Regions from separate parts of the Homo sapiens genome. Here all the other regions are linked to region 5. The links are contacts of gene promoters, found by promoter capture Hi-C in blood cells and fetal thymus (Javierre and others, 2016). All regions are on one chromosome and are shown on one strand. The core of a region is centred on a gene start or on the middle of the fragment in contact, and the rest is flanking DNA. Distances in the headings are between cores, read along the strand shown. Region 1 has its middle 37 kb from the start of LINC01220. Region 2 has its middle 60 kb from the start of JDP2-AS1. Region 3 overlaps DLST (dihydrolipoamide S-succinyltransferase). Region 4 has its middle 54 kb from the start of LINC01220. Region 5 holds the start of NEK9 (NIMA related kinase 9).

Region 1 (2,700 bases), core at 49-2,548, 200 kb after region 5:
TCGTCTCAAGACTCTGTCATCTCAACATGTGGCTGGGGAGGAAGAGACAGAGAGAGAGCGAGAGAGGCCAGGTGCGGTGGCTCACTCCTGTAATCCCAGCACTTTGGGAGACCAAAGCTGGTGGATCACTTGAGGTCAGGAGTTTGAGACCAGCCTGGCCAACATGGCGAAACCCCATCTCTACTAAAAATACAAAAATTAGCCAGGCATGGTGGCACATGCCTGTAATCCCAGCTACTCAGGAAGCTGAGGGAGGAGAATCGCTTGAACCCGGGGGGCAGAGGTTGCAGTGAGCCGAGATCATGCCACTGCACTCCAGCTCCAGACTGGGTGACAGAGCGAGACTCTGTCAAAAAAAAAAAGAAAAAGAAAAAGAGAGAGAGAGAATGATTTAGCCTTGGAGTGATCATCCAACTTCTGCTCATGACCCATTGTCCAGAACCAGTGACCCAGTTCCATCTAAATGCTACAGGGCTAGGAATGTAGGGGAGCCCATGTGATATTTGGTGGGCAGTGCTGTCTGTGCCACAGAAAGAGTAAGGCATGCTGGGAAACTGCAAGTCCTTCCAAGTGGCTAGAGCTTATTGAGTGTGTGTGTGTGTGTGTGTGTGTGTGTGTGTGTGTGCGTTGGGGATTAGTAGGCAGGGTTGGAGAGAGAAATGATAGGGAGTGAGGTGAGTTGAGGTCAGTCACAAAGGGGCTTTGTAAGCCATGTTCAATGTTGAAGAATTTGAACTTTAGGGCGACATGGAAGAATTTTATTAGGATATGATAGGATTATATTGGCATTTTAGAAAGATCAGACTTTCATATGGAGACTTGGGATGGAGGGGGCAAGATTGGAGAACAGCGAAGAAGCTTTTGCTGTCATTAGGAGAGAGGCAATGGTGCCCTGAACAAGGAAGGGGCTGTAGGGATGAGGGAGGTGGGAACATTCAAGGCTTATGTAGGAAGTGAAATCAGTAGCTGAAGTGCAGGAGAAGAGGGGTGAAGGGTAGACCTCGTATTTGTGGGTTGAGCGACTGAGTGGAGGGTTCTGTTTACCTGCTCAGGCATGGCAGGAAGAGTAAGTTTAGGGGAAAGACAATGTGTTCAGTTTTGGACACGGTGAATTTCAGGGGTCTGTAGAACACCCAAGGGGAGAAGTTCAGAAGGCATTTGCCTTGTTCAAGGCATTTGGCTATAAGAGTCTGGTGCTGGGGAGTGTGAGGTTGGTGATGTTGATTCGGGAGTCATGAGCATATAGGTGGTATTTGAAGTCCTAATGATGGAAAGTTGAATGAAACATTATCCCTGGGCCAGGCGTGGTGGCTCATGCCTGTAATCCCAGGATTTCGGGAGGCCAAGGCAGAAGGACTGCTTGAGCCCAGGAGTTCAGGACCAGCCTGGGTAAGATGGTGAGACCCTGTCTCTACCAAAATTTTTTAGAAATTAACTGGATGTGGTGGCACGTACATGTGGCTATTTAGGAAGCTGAAGCGGGAGGATCCTTTGAGCCCAGGAGTTTGAAGTGCCAGTGAGGTATAATTGTATCACTCTACTCCAGCCTGGCCAACAGAGCGAGACCTTGTCTCAAAAAAATAAAAATAAAAAATAAAGTCCCTGCTCTCAAGTAGTTAAAAGTTTAGTGTGGGGTGGGGGCTAGGCATGCAAGGAACAATTGGATTTCAAGGTGAACTGTATAACACAGAGGTATGTACAGGGCTCAGTGGTGACACAAGGCCTGGGAGGGTCAGAGAAAGCTTTAGAGAAGAGGGGCTGAAACTGAGTAAGAGCTTGGCAGGTGGACTGGGGAAGGCCAGTCTATGTGGAGGGCAGAGCAAGTGCAAAGGCATGGAGATGCCAAAGCAGCACTGCCCAGCCAAGAAGTTCTGTTTTCTGGAGCATTTCAGTGTGCTCATCTAAGGAAGAGGCAGCAGAAGCACTTGAGATCTTTGAGGAAACACTTGTCCATCAACATCTGTGTAGTGCGTGTTGAATACCCATGGCCTAGCTTTACACAGATGAAGGGTTTGTGATAAGGTGGCATTAAAAAAGAAATTAAACATTTTATTTTATTATTATTTTTTGTTTGTTTTTGTTTTTTGAAATGCAGTCTCACTCTGTCACCCAGGCTTGAGGGCAGCGGCATGATCTCCGCTCACTGTAACCTCTGCCTCTGGGGTTCAAGAGATCCTCCCACCTCAGCCTCCCAAGTAGCTGGGATTACAGGCACCCGCCACCATGCCCAGCTAATTTTTCTATTTTTAGTAGAGACGGGGTTTTGCCATGTTGGCCAGGCTGGTCTCAAACTACTGACCTCAAGTGATCCACCCACCTCAGCCTCCCAAAGTGCTGGGATTACAGGCATGAGTCACTGCACCTGGCCAAAATAAATAAATAAATAAAATAAAAATAAACATTTAAAAAGTCATTTTTAATCATTTTTTCAAACACATAAAAATGTAGAAAAAATAACACAATAAATCCATGTGTATTTATCACCCAGGTTCAATAATTTCTAATGTTTTGCCAATATTTGTTCATTAATTCATTTCTCCCTTTTTGGAAGGCTGGAGAATTAATTTAACTTTATATTACGGAGGCAGTAGACAGAAGAGTATAATGAACCCTCATCTACTCATTACCTAGTCCCAAGAAATATTGACCCAAGGCCATTCCTTCCCTATCCATGTCCCATCTGCTTAATCCCCTCCCATA
Region 2 (2,700 bases), core at 55-2,554, 240 kb after region 5:
TGCAGTGGGCTGGTTGTCCACTGATATCCATTTCCCCCTCCATTTGATAACAGAACTCCAGAGTGGGAGCTGGACAGAAGGCCACCCAACCTCCTTTGTTATTGGGTCTGTCCATGTGACAATGTCTCAGCCACTGAGGGATCAGAAGAAACACACGTTTGAGTGTGGCCCAAAAAAGGAGTGTATGGCTGCTTCTCTTCCCATTTCTCGTTCTTACTGGGGGGATGAGGACCACTGGAGAAGCCACCTTGGATGCAGCAATGGAAGCCTGCATTGAAGATGGCAGAGCCACCCTAATAGCCTGGACCACCTACCTGTGGGCTGGTGTATTTCTTTTATAAAAAATTTTTTTTTGTAGAGACAGGGTCTCTCTTTATTGACCAGGCTGGTCTCAAATTCCTAGCCTCCAGTGATCCTCCTGTCTTGGCCTCCCAAAGTGCTGGGATTACAGGCGTGAGCCACCATGCCAGCCGGCTTGTGTATTTTAAGCCTCTTTCTTACAGCTTAGTTTGTACCAAAATCTGTTTAGTAGAAGGAACCTTAGATGACTAGTGCTTTGTCCTGCAGTCTCACAAAAGTCACCCTATTTTTCCAGGCCTCAATTGCCACATCTGTCAGATGGGAATATTAATAACTCTTTACTCTCTCCATGGGAAACTTCTAGGAACTGCAGATGTGCTATGATTTGCAAAGAGTAGAAAGCAAGGTAAAGTGTGTGGGGAGGGTTTTCAGGGTGAGTGAGTGAGAATCTCCCATCAGAGTTTATCATGCAGCCATTTCCTCTTCAGGGGCTTTTGATTAGCTCAGTTAAATGTCTGGTCCAGCTAATCAGAGCCAAGGTAGGCCCTGTGGTGGTTCACCATCTCCCCAGACACAATTCTCCCCAGCCTTTCAAGTGCTCAGAAAACACAAAGTTTGTCTTGGCTGTAAGGGGTCAGACCTAAGGAAGTGATCCGGGTCGAAAAGCTTTTACACAATTGTAAGTAGTGGAATGTGCTGAACCCAGTTGAACCTCATTAAAATGCCACAGTGGGTTGAGTGTTCATGTTTCATGTTCGTGATGTTTGAATGTTTAAATTCACATGAAAAATGTAAGCAATGAGACGCAATAACTGGCAGGGTCTGGGCCACTATTTTAGGCAGACGGCTACCTGATGGTGTTAGCAGTGTTGACAGAACACATTGACTCTGAAGGACATGGTGGGGTTTCAGCTCAGGCAGGATCTGCACGTGGCTTGTAGATGTTTCCCACTCGGCTAAGCCACCATGAACAGGATTTGGCTTTTCTTATGCAACCCTGTCCTGTGCTTAACACACACCTGTTTGATTTGTGATACATGAAGGATAGAGCCAGTGGGATCTGGGAAAGAGGGGCAAAGAGCAGTTTGAGAATGTCTTGGGGAAATTGAATGAAGAAGGAAAAAAAGGAAGGGCGTTCAGGCAAGAAATAAGACAATGTGTTGGAAGATTGGGAACAAATTTCTTAAATATCTCACAGTAGAAGAATAATAAATTATGGCCCAATTACTCATTCCATTCATTTAAAAACACATATTGTCTACCGTACACCAGGTTCCAGTGTTCCTAGGTTCAGGGACAAAATCCTGCACTTCATATTATGCACTATTTAAAATGATAGTTATGAAGCTTACATAACAACATGGAAAATGCTTATGATATAAATTTAGCAGAAGATACGAGGGTCAAATTAGTGTACACTGTGATGACAGACTGAAAAAAACAGATGCAGAGGAGAATGAAGTGAGAAACTATGGCAAAAAGTAATGATTGATTGTGTTAGGGTGGTGGGGTTTTGGGGCAACCTTTCTGAATTTCCCAAACTTTCAGTACTGTAGTCGTATTGCATTCGTAAGTCTAAAAAAAGTGTTGTTGTTTTTTCTTAAATAAGAAGGGGCATTATCCAACCAACTGACCCTCCCATATTAACCACCCTGCCACAGTAGCCTTTGAGAAGAACTTCACAATGGAGAAGCTCCTTCTCCTGTGCCAACCCAATTGCTGACATTCTCCAGTTAGCAGGTCCCTGCTGCTGAGAGTCTCAATCATAGATATTAAAGTCTGGGAGGGGCCCAGAAAGTCAAAAGTGAATCCCTATTCTTGGTGATGGCAAGTTCAGCAGCAATCTAGTGGAAATGAAGAGGCCTCCAGTCCAACACAGTATGGGGGCTGGTATTTCCCCTGACTCTCAGAATCTGTGTGTCCATCTATTTGGGGTATGAGATGAAGGGCTTGGCCAGCTTCTTACCTTAGGAATGTATGCACCAGGCACTGCTGCCAAACCAAGCCTAAGACACTCACTGCTGTGCTTGATTCCTATGAAGTAAGCAACAGTTCTGTCTGCCTACTCCAAACAGACTTGTCCATGAATTTCCGATTAGCCTGCCTGGGGCATAACTCTGGGATGCAGCTTTGGAATCAGACAGATCTGAATTTTTAAAAATTTACAAACATTTAATTGAAGATCTACATGCACACAGTTAGAAAGATAAATGGCACAGAAGGACTTAAGTTAAAAATAGGCCTCCATCCCACTCCTTGGATTCAATCTTGCCTCCTGGAGGCAGTAGCTTTTAACTGTCTCAATTTCTGGTTATGCCAGTTTGCCTTCATATCTCTAAGCAATATGATAATTCTTCTCTGTTCCAGTAGGTCAGCTGGGGACATTATCTATTGTCTCCC
Region 3 (2,700 bases), core at 54-2,553, 240 kb before region 5:
TGAGTTGACCTTGTTGTGGGCTTTCTTTGTGCCAAGCATTTATATGAGTGCTTTCTGTGAATTTTTTAGTTAATCATCTCAAAACAGTAAAAAGTATTTTCTCTATTTTACAAATGCATAACCCAAGACAAGAGAGCTTAAAAGCCTTGGCCATGGTCACCCACCCAGCTGTTGATAAGCCAGGTCTACCTGACCCATCCTGAACTCTTAACCCACCATGTTCTCATTTACTCATGGACTCAACAGATCATTTATTGAGTGCTTACTATATGCCAGCCACTGTTCTAGGTAACAGGGGTATAGATAGACTCTAGCCTCGAGATTTTATGGGCTAGCTGGAGAGAGAGAGCAAATATACATTTATGCTCCGACAAGGGCATAAATTTTGGTTACTACGAGAGAGGAATTAAAGGGTGTGATGAGAGGGTGGGATGATGTAGACCAGCTTGGGAAGGTTGGGAATGTCAGTAAAGGCTTCCCTGAAGAAGTGACATTTAACTGAGACCTGAATATAAAAGAGCCAAGAAAATGTATTCCAGGCAAAGGGAATTGCTTGTGCAAAGGTTTTCAGACAGGAAAGGACTTGACCAGTGATAGACATGGGAAGAAGCCTGTCTGGCAGGAAAGATAGAGTGGGCTGGACGGTACAGGATCGCGTAAAGTGTGGACTTTATCCTGAGAGTTATGAGAACATAAAGCCCCTAGCACAATGTCGGCTTGTAGTGGACTCTCAATAACAAACATGTTTTTCAAGTGGGAACCCTGAACAATGTCAGTAAACATTTTCTCCACTTCATAGGTGGGCAGGACAATGGAAAGAGCCTTGCACTTGGGGATTTGCATTTGGGCTCAGGGATTCACCTTGGGCTAGTCGCTTAACCTCCAAAAGTCCTACTTATATGAAATGGGAATAATGGCAGATGGTCGTTCCACTTCAGAGAGTTGTGAGACTGTAAAATCAAAATGAGGTCATTATGGGAAAGCTTTTTATAAACCCTAAAGCACTGTACAAATGAAATTTGCTGTAGGATGAACTCTGAATTGGACTCCAGGTTCCCAAAATCAGTGTGAGCCGCCATCTATTCTAGTTCAAAAACATACTATGCTTAGAATTTGCACTGCATAGTCATTGGCTGCTGGACATAAAGGTGACTGGCTTACCTATCTTGGGATGCTTGTGAGGAGGTGGGCATAAGAGAGGGCTAGCTCTCATTTGGTGTGTCCTGAGCCCATGGTTCAGAAAGAGTTGTTAATCTGAAAGAAAAAAGACATAAGAAAGAATTCAGAAGAGGCAGCTGTAGTTACTAGTCATCAGTTGGGGAAATGCAGTTAACTATGATAAGGACAGCTGGTGGGCAGAAAGGGTCTCTCACCTTGTTGAGAGTGACCAGGGTGGAAGACTTCAGAAAGGCATGGGAAGTCAATAAACTGAAAGATGGGGACATGATTTTCTCAGCTCTAGGACAAACTGGAGACCCCGAGCCTAAAGTAGCCAAGTCTTTGCTACTAGGATTCAGGTGATAAGATTTCCAACCCAATCTTTTCAAACCCAGACCAAACATCCTCCTTGCTTCTCAAATTGGGTTATGTATAGTCACAGGATAAGCCATCCCATGTCTTTCTCAAGCTTCAGTTGTATTTGAAGACTTGGCGAGTAGAGACATTTTATTATGAAAACATACAGGAATAATGAAAAGTTCTGGCTTTTTAAGGTAGATGAGATTATATAATCACTTTGGGCTGTGCCATCAAATTTTTTCTCTTTCCTCCCCAGCCAAACACATACCCACTCGATCTCACATACCCATTTGCTCTCTGCCACTAAGGCTACTTTGGAAAAGTTTGAGAAGCAGGACTCTATGATAAAGATTATATCCGTTGCCGTTGATCCTGCTCTGTCTCAGGGTTGGGGGTGAGCAGACCTTTTCCATTCCCAGCATGTATCCTTTGTGAGATAAGAGTTGTTGGTTAAGAGTTATTTTGTTTCTTGCAGGGGTCTCCTTATGCCAGGGACCAGGTTACCCTAACAGCAGGAAGGTTGTGTAAGTATCACTGGGGAGTACAGATATGTGGCCACGGGTTATTTATTTAAAGACATAAAGTTCTAAATTTGACCATCTGATTTCTTCACTGGCCTCCAGACCTAGAAATTGAGGTGATTATGTTGAGTCCCTAGACTAACCTCAATGTTCACTTTTCCCATGTGATGTTCCTTGAGCATCAGCTCCGTGTCAGGTTTTGGACTGGGAGTGTGCCCACTCTCCACAGGTGTTTGGATTATAATGAAAGTTAAGTTGGAATCCTCTTTTTATGGGATATAGAAGGGTGCTCCTAGATATTCTGTTTGGATGTAAGTGCAGCTGAAAGGCTCGAGGTTACATTTATTGTGGAGATTGAGAGCATCCTCTCAGTAGCATAGTTACTCATTTTTAAAAACAGTAAAAGCATAAAACTGGTTGAGTCCTGGGACTGACTGACTAGTTTGGAGGGAATGCTGTTATTGCATAATGCAGAGTTTGGAGAAAGGCTACCCATGTGTGTTTCAGATTAACTTCTGCGTATGAATGTTGCTTAAATGCTGCTTTGCATTCCAAGTGTTTTTGTGGTGGTGCTAAGAGAATGCTCTCTAGTAACCTGTTCAGCAGCTGTCAGGCTGCTTACTCTACAGGGAGAATCCTCAAAGTGAAGAGGTCAGCGGAT
Region 4 (2,700 bases), core at 1-2,500, 220 kb after region 5:
ATTTCCCTAAACTAGCCCCCAGTACCCAAAGGGCCCTCTTCAATGCGGGGACTAAGTTTAACCAGGTGAGTTTCAGCTTTTCTGTATCTGAAGAGCCCATCCTCTGAAGAGCCTGAAGTCCTCTGAAATTCTGCTGGATCTTATTGTGATTGTTTTTAGAGACTTTCAGAGGTGAACAGCAGCATCACCTCAACTCCTCTCCTGGAGTTGACCCTGACCCCTGACAGCAGCATCCTCTCGTCAGCTCTTGTGATGCTTGGAGATGACCTCTCAGAGCTCTGCTTGGGCAGGAGGTGGATGGATTTGTTTAGGCAGGCGTGGAGGTGGGTTGGAGTAGGCGATTTTGGTCTGTCTGTGCGCTCCATCCTATGTGGCCTTGACTCGGAGGTGGTTTGGCATCATATCAGTCAGAGGCTTTGACTATAAGGGAAAAAGGGAAATTACAGGAAGGCTATCAGGGGTTCACAGAGTTGTTGGGGGTTAGAAAAGCAGGCTTGGAAAGTGACCAGGAGTGACGCAAAGAGCACAAAGGCGTTTTATCTGGGTCAGGCTGACCCCAAATTGCTGCCCCTGCTCCCAGCCTCCAGAGCACTGTCACCATTGCCATCAGACATACTACCTCTTCCTCAAATGCCCCTGAACTGGCCCTTTGCTTCGGTCACTCATTCCAGCCTCAAAATCCCTGGTAGGAATGGCTGATTAGCTGAGCCTAGGTCACGTTCCCAGGCCTGCTCAGTGTGGCGGAGGTCAAAAAGAGAACCTCCTCATTTCCATTTCTGGAGGTGGTTGGAGATGGGGAGGGACTGCATTTATCCCATACCGCACAATGGGGAGTTGTCCCAGATGATTAAGGGAGTTAATGCTGGACAATCAAAAACTCCTGATGGATTTCTACTCTGAAGAGCATCTGGGGCATGTTTGATGTTGTACAGACAGCAGACCCTACCCACTACTTCATTCATGGTGCCTGGTTGGAGACTGAGGAAGCCAGGCACCACCATCATAAATCCTCAGACCTCATCACGAAATACCTGATGGTTCTGGAGATAAGTACCTGCTGCCTGGGCCTCTTGGTAGGCCTTGCTGCCCTGGGGCTGGTATGGGGCTGGAGCGGATCCACAGCCAGACACTTTATGAGGCAACCAGAAGAGAGGTTAGAAACATGGAGATGCCAGCCTTCCCCACATGTCAGTCTGGGAGAAGCATGGCGGAGGATAATCCCAGGAGTTAACTGGCAAAGGAACAAAGGAAGAGGCATGATCACTTGTACTGGGAGTCAAGACCATGCCCTGGGTGATACCCCCTATTCCCCAATAACAAGCAATTAACATTTGTGTGAGGTTCCTATTTTTTAGGCACCTTCCTGTATGTTTGACAAAAAAAGGGTTTTTTTGTTTGTTTGTTTGTTTGTTTGTTTGTTTGAGATGGAGTCCTGCTCTGTCACCAGGCTGGAGTGTAGTGGTGCTTTCTCGGCTCACTGCAATCTCCATCTCCTGGGTTCAAGTGATTCTCCTGTCTCAGCCTCCTGAGTAGCTGGGACTACAGGCACTTGCCACCATGCCCGGCTAATTTTTGTATTTTTAGTAGAGACAGGGTTTTACCATATTGGCCAGGCAGGTCTTGAATTCCTGACCTCAAGTGATCTGCCCGCCTCGGCCTCCCAAAGTGCTGGGATTACAGGCGTAAGCAACCGCACCCAGCCAAGAAAAGGATTTTAAATGGCGAAATAATAATATAGTAAATGTTTTCCTTAGGTTTGAATGAGGTTATACAAGATGGGGTCTTCTTGAGGGCAGGGACCACTTTTTTACTTGCCTTTGCCTCTCTGGTGTATAGCATAACAACTGGGGGATGATTAAGTGCTCAGTAACTGTTTATTGGATGAACGAAGACTAGCAATTGTGTGAGAACCAATGTCATTAAGTTGATACTTAGGGGCAGGTTGAGCAGCTGTGGTTGGGCTGCTTGGTTGAGACAAGGTTGAAATTCTTCAAGATATGGGGCTTATTGAGGGGTTAGGTTGCAGACCAAGCACTCCAGGCTGAGAGGTGATTGCTATGTGTTCACCAACCTCCATTTCCTTTTCCTTTTGGGCACATGGCTAGATTACATTTCCCAGCCTCTCTTGTAGTTTGCTGGGGCATGTGACTCAGTCCCGACCAGTGGGATGCAGGTGAAAGTGCCGTATACCACCTCTGGTCCTGGTTCCTAAAAGTGTCCCCTGTGATCCATCACTCTCTCTGGTCTTTCATCTGCTGGCTGTACACTGAGGATGTAGTGGGGGATTCCAAGTCTTAGGAGATAACAGAGCCACTAGGGAAAGGGCTTGGGTCCCTGAATGACTATATGGAGCAGAGTTCCTCACCTTTGATTTCTCATTGATCTGTGACAGAAGTAAGAAATTAACCTGTATTGTGTTAAGCCACTGAGATTTTTGGTTGTCACAGAGTGGTCATTAGCTACCCTACTACAGGACAACTCATTTTAATCTGGGGAGGGAGAGAGTGGTGCTAAGTATTGCTAGTTATGGCAGAGGCCTGGCTGCAATTTTCCTCCCCTAAACTGAAAACAAACAGATGTGCTCACAGACATAGAGAAGTTAGGAGAGAGAGAACCAATTGTCAGGGAGGACTTGGGACCCTTCTAAGCTTGAAGGTTTTAAGGTGACAGGGATATATCCAAGTGGACGTTCTGTGGGCC
Region 5 (2,700 bases), core at 29-2,528:
TGCTGGCTTGGAACACACACCAGAACTGCAGATGGATTTCCGACGGATGAATCACCTTCAGCAACCCCAGCAAGTTCTCATTAAATGTTTACCCTAAAGTAAGATTTTATGATCAAATCTAGTGTATCGTTAGTTTTTGGAAGTAGAATAATCACTGCAGGGTTTTACACTAGTATATATTAACTTGGGATTCCGTGATCCATGGATCTCTCCAAAGGATGTGCATATGTGCAAATGTGTTGATGGAGGGGGCAAGATTACTTTGCTTAGGTTATCAAAGGGGTCCTTGTGCCCCCCAAATTAAGAACTAATGGCTTAGAATATACCAACAAAGTATTTCCCATGCATAAACCCTGCAAGATAAACACTGATAAAGAACCAACACACAAAGATCTTCCCAATGAGCTTCAAGAAAAGCTTCCAACTGAGTGATCACTGCTGAACTTAAAGATAATGACAAAAATAACGGAGTTGCCACGGGTGTGGGGATTTTGAAGCTATGCCCCTCCTCCTCACCCCGACCTTGGAGAACTATATATACAGCATGAGAGGAAGGAAGTTTTGGCAATACCTCACATTCGTATACCACTTTAATTTACAGAACAGAGCCTTCGTTTGATTCTCAAGATAATCTTAAAAAAAAAAGAAAAAGATGATTTCAAGGTATTATCAGTAAGCCCATTTTACAGATGGGGAAACTAAAGCTCAAGAGACGGTTAGGTGACTTAGGACAATCAAAAATGACTAGTCAAACCAATGATCTAGCCAATTTCTAGTGCCGGTGAGTGGGAAGAGTGGTGAAGACCCTAAGACATATACCCCGTGGGCGCCTAAAGCACTAAGCTCACGACGCTGGGAAAGCGGGGCCGAGAAGGAGGGACTCGGGGCGACCCGACAGCGCCAGACAGGGCGGCCGGCGCCGAGGGCCGCTACCTCGGTGCGGCGGTACAGCGTGGCTTCCCCGAAGGCGCCGCGGCCCAGGACGCGGATGGGGATGTAGTGCAGTTCCTCCTGCTCCGCCGCGCCGCCGCCGGCTCGCGGCCCCTGACTGGCGCTAGGCCCCGGACTCGAGTCCCCGCAACCCCCGGACTCGCTCCCAAAGTCCGAGTTGATGGAATCGCAGTGTCGCTCGTACTCGCCCAGCACCGACATGGCGGCGGCCGCGGGCCTTGGGGACCAGCCTGCGTATGCCCGGAGGCCCTGGCCGCGCTGCGTCCCGCTCGCTTCAGATGCCGGCCCGCGGATCCGTCAGCCCAGCAACCCCGCGAAGCTCGATGGTGGCTCCTGCCCCCCGACCCGGAAACAGTTCTCTGTGTTTCCGGCCTGGCTGAGTTTCCTCCGCCTTTGCTTACCCTCTTGGCTAGTCTAGCGGCCAAGGCTTCCCGCTTTCGGGGAAGGCCTGCAAAGTGAGGCCTCGGGCTAGGGTTGGCGGGCGCGTGGTGGGAACCGCGTGGAACCGAAGGGCTCCCACGGGAACAAGGGCATCACTGACGGTACGGCCTCTCGGGTCTATTGACCCTTCTCTGCCTCCCCGGTCCGGACTCATACAACTTGGAGGCCCAGAGGTCGTCCAGTCTCATCTTGACGTCAGGTCTGTGACAAGAGGGTGATTGGGGAAGCATTCCCAGTGTACACCTTCTTCCCCATTCCAACGTTGGACAGCATTCTTTTTTAGAGAGATAGTATAGTAAAGATAATATGGCCGGGCAAGGTGGCTCACGCCTGTAATCTCAGCATGTTAGGAAGCCGAGGCGGGCGGATCACCTGAGGTCAGGCGTTTGAGACCAGCCTGACCAACTGGTGAAACCCCGTCTCTATAAAATACAAAAATTAGCCAGGCGTGGTGGCAGGCACCTGTAATCCCAGCTACTCCAGAGGCTGAGGCAGGTGAATCACTTGAACCCGGAAGGAGGAGGTTGCAGCGAGCCGAGATCGCGCACTACACTCCAGCCTGGATAACAGAGCGAGACTTTGTCTCAAAAAAAAAAAAAATAATAATAATATAGACAGCCTAAATGTCTGCCTCCGGTCATCTCGGTCCCTGGGCCGAGTTCTTTCTCCCAGGGCCATCCTAAGTCCCTCCCTCTTCTACACAACTCCAAAAATATTTTAAGTCAACTCTCCTGACACTTTCCTTCTCCCCCGTCTCTTTTTCCAGATTCAATTTATTCTATGTGTTTTTCCAGATATTTGACCATATGATATCATGAAACATTCTTTGAGCACTTGGTGCCACACACTGTTTGGGAACAGGAAATCTGCAATAATGTTCTCCCTACCGTCAAGTAGGAAAACAGCAATACGGTGAACAATAGGTGTTCCATCAGTTATGTGACCTTGGGCAATTATGTGACCTTGGGCAACTTCTCATCTCCAAGCTTGTTTTGTTGTGAGAATGTGGTCTACATCACAGACATAACAGCTAACATTTATTGAGTGTTATGTTCTGGGTACTATGCTAAAGGTTTTTTACGTATTATCTCACATTATTATGTATTATCCTATGTATTATGTATTATGTATTATCCTAACATTCCCATTTTACAGAAACAGAGGTACCTAAGTAACCTGCTTAATGTGACAGACCTAGTAAGAGGGAGCTGGGAAGTTGAACCCAGCAATCTGAAAAAGCAGGATGTGATGGGGCTAAGAGAAAGCCATGTGCCTAGCCGGGCGTGGTGGCTCACACTTGTAATCCCA

What was found. Contacts are between HindIII fragments. The CHiCAGO score rates a contact against its expected background, and 5 or more counts as called.
Region 1: a fragment that was not itself captured here is called in contact with the fragment with the promoter of NEK9 in region 5 in 11 of 17 cell types (monocytes, neutrophils, activated CD4 T cells and 8 more); the score reaches 13.4 in monocytes.
Region 2: a contact is called between a fragment that was not itself captured here and the fragment with the promoter of NEK9 in region 5, in 2 of 17 cell types (monocytes and neutrophils). The highest score is 13.2, in monocytes.
Region 3: a contact is called between a fragment that was not itself captured here and the fragment with the promoter of NEK9 in region 5, in 1 of 17 cell types (erythroblasts). The highest score is 5.2, in erythroblasts.
Region 4: a contact is called between a fragment that was not itself captured here and the fragment with the promoter of NEK9 in region 5, in 6 of 17 cell types (monocytes, neutrophils, activated CD4 T cells and 3 more). The highest score is 14.8, in monocytes.

The regions. Positions count from the first base shown.
Region 1 is chr14:75,329,775-75,332,474 of GRCh38, forward strand. No RefSeq gene overlaps it. Among named protein-coding and RNA genes, the nearest start is that of LINC01220, 37 kb to the left of the region's middle. The HindIII fragment of the contact is 884 bases long and covers 857-1,740 here.
Region 2 is chr14:75,366,148-75,368,847 of GRCh38, forward strand. No RefSeq gene overlaps it. Among named protein-coding and RNA genes, the nearest start is that of JDP2-AS1, 60 kb to the right of the region's middle. The HindIII fragment of the contact is 681 bases long and covers 965-1,645 here.
Region 3 is chr14:74,883,593-74,886,292 of GRCh38, forward strand. DLST (dihydrolipoamide S-succinyltransferase) reads left to right here. Exons shown (of 15, transcript NM_001933.5): 3 at 1,994-2,042. Among named protein-coding and RNA genes, the nearest start is that of DLST, 3.0 kb to the left of the region's middle. The HindIII fragment of the contact is 644 bases long and covers 982-1,625 here.
Region 4 is chr14:75,347,506-75,350,205 of GRCh38, forward strand. No RefSeq gene overlaps it. Among named protein-coding and RNA genes, the nearest start is that of LINC01220, 54 kb to the left of the region's middle. The HindIII fragment of the contact is 2,792 bases long and covers 1-2,646 here.
Region 5 is chr14:75,125,770-75,128,469 of GRCh38, forward strand. It overlaps NEK9 (NIMA related kinase 9), which reads right to left and starts at 1,279. Exons shown (of 22, transcript NM_033116.6): 1 at 934-1,279. The coding sequence starts at 1,152. RefSeq lists enhancers at 1,143-1,192, 1,203-1,332. The HindIII fragment of the contact is 1,961 bases long and covers 416-2,376 here.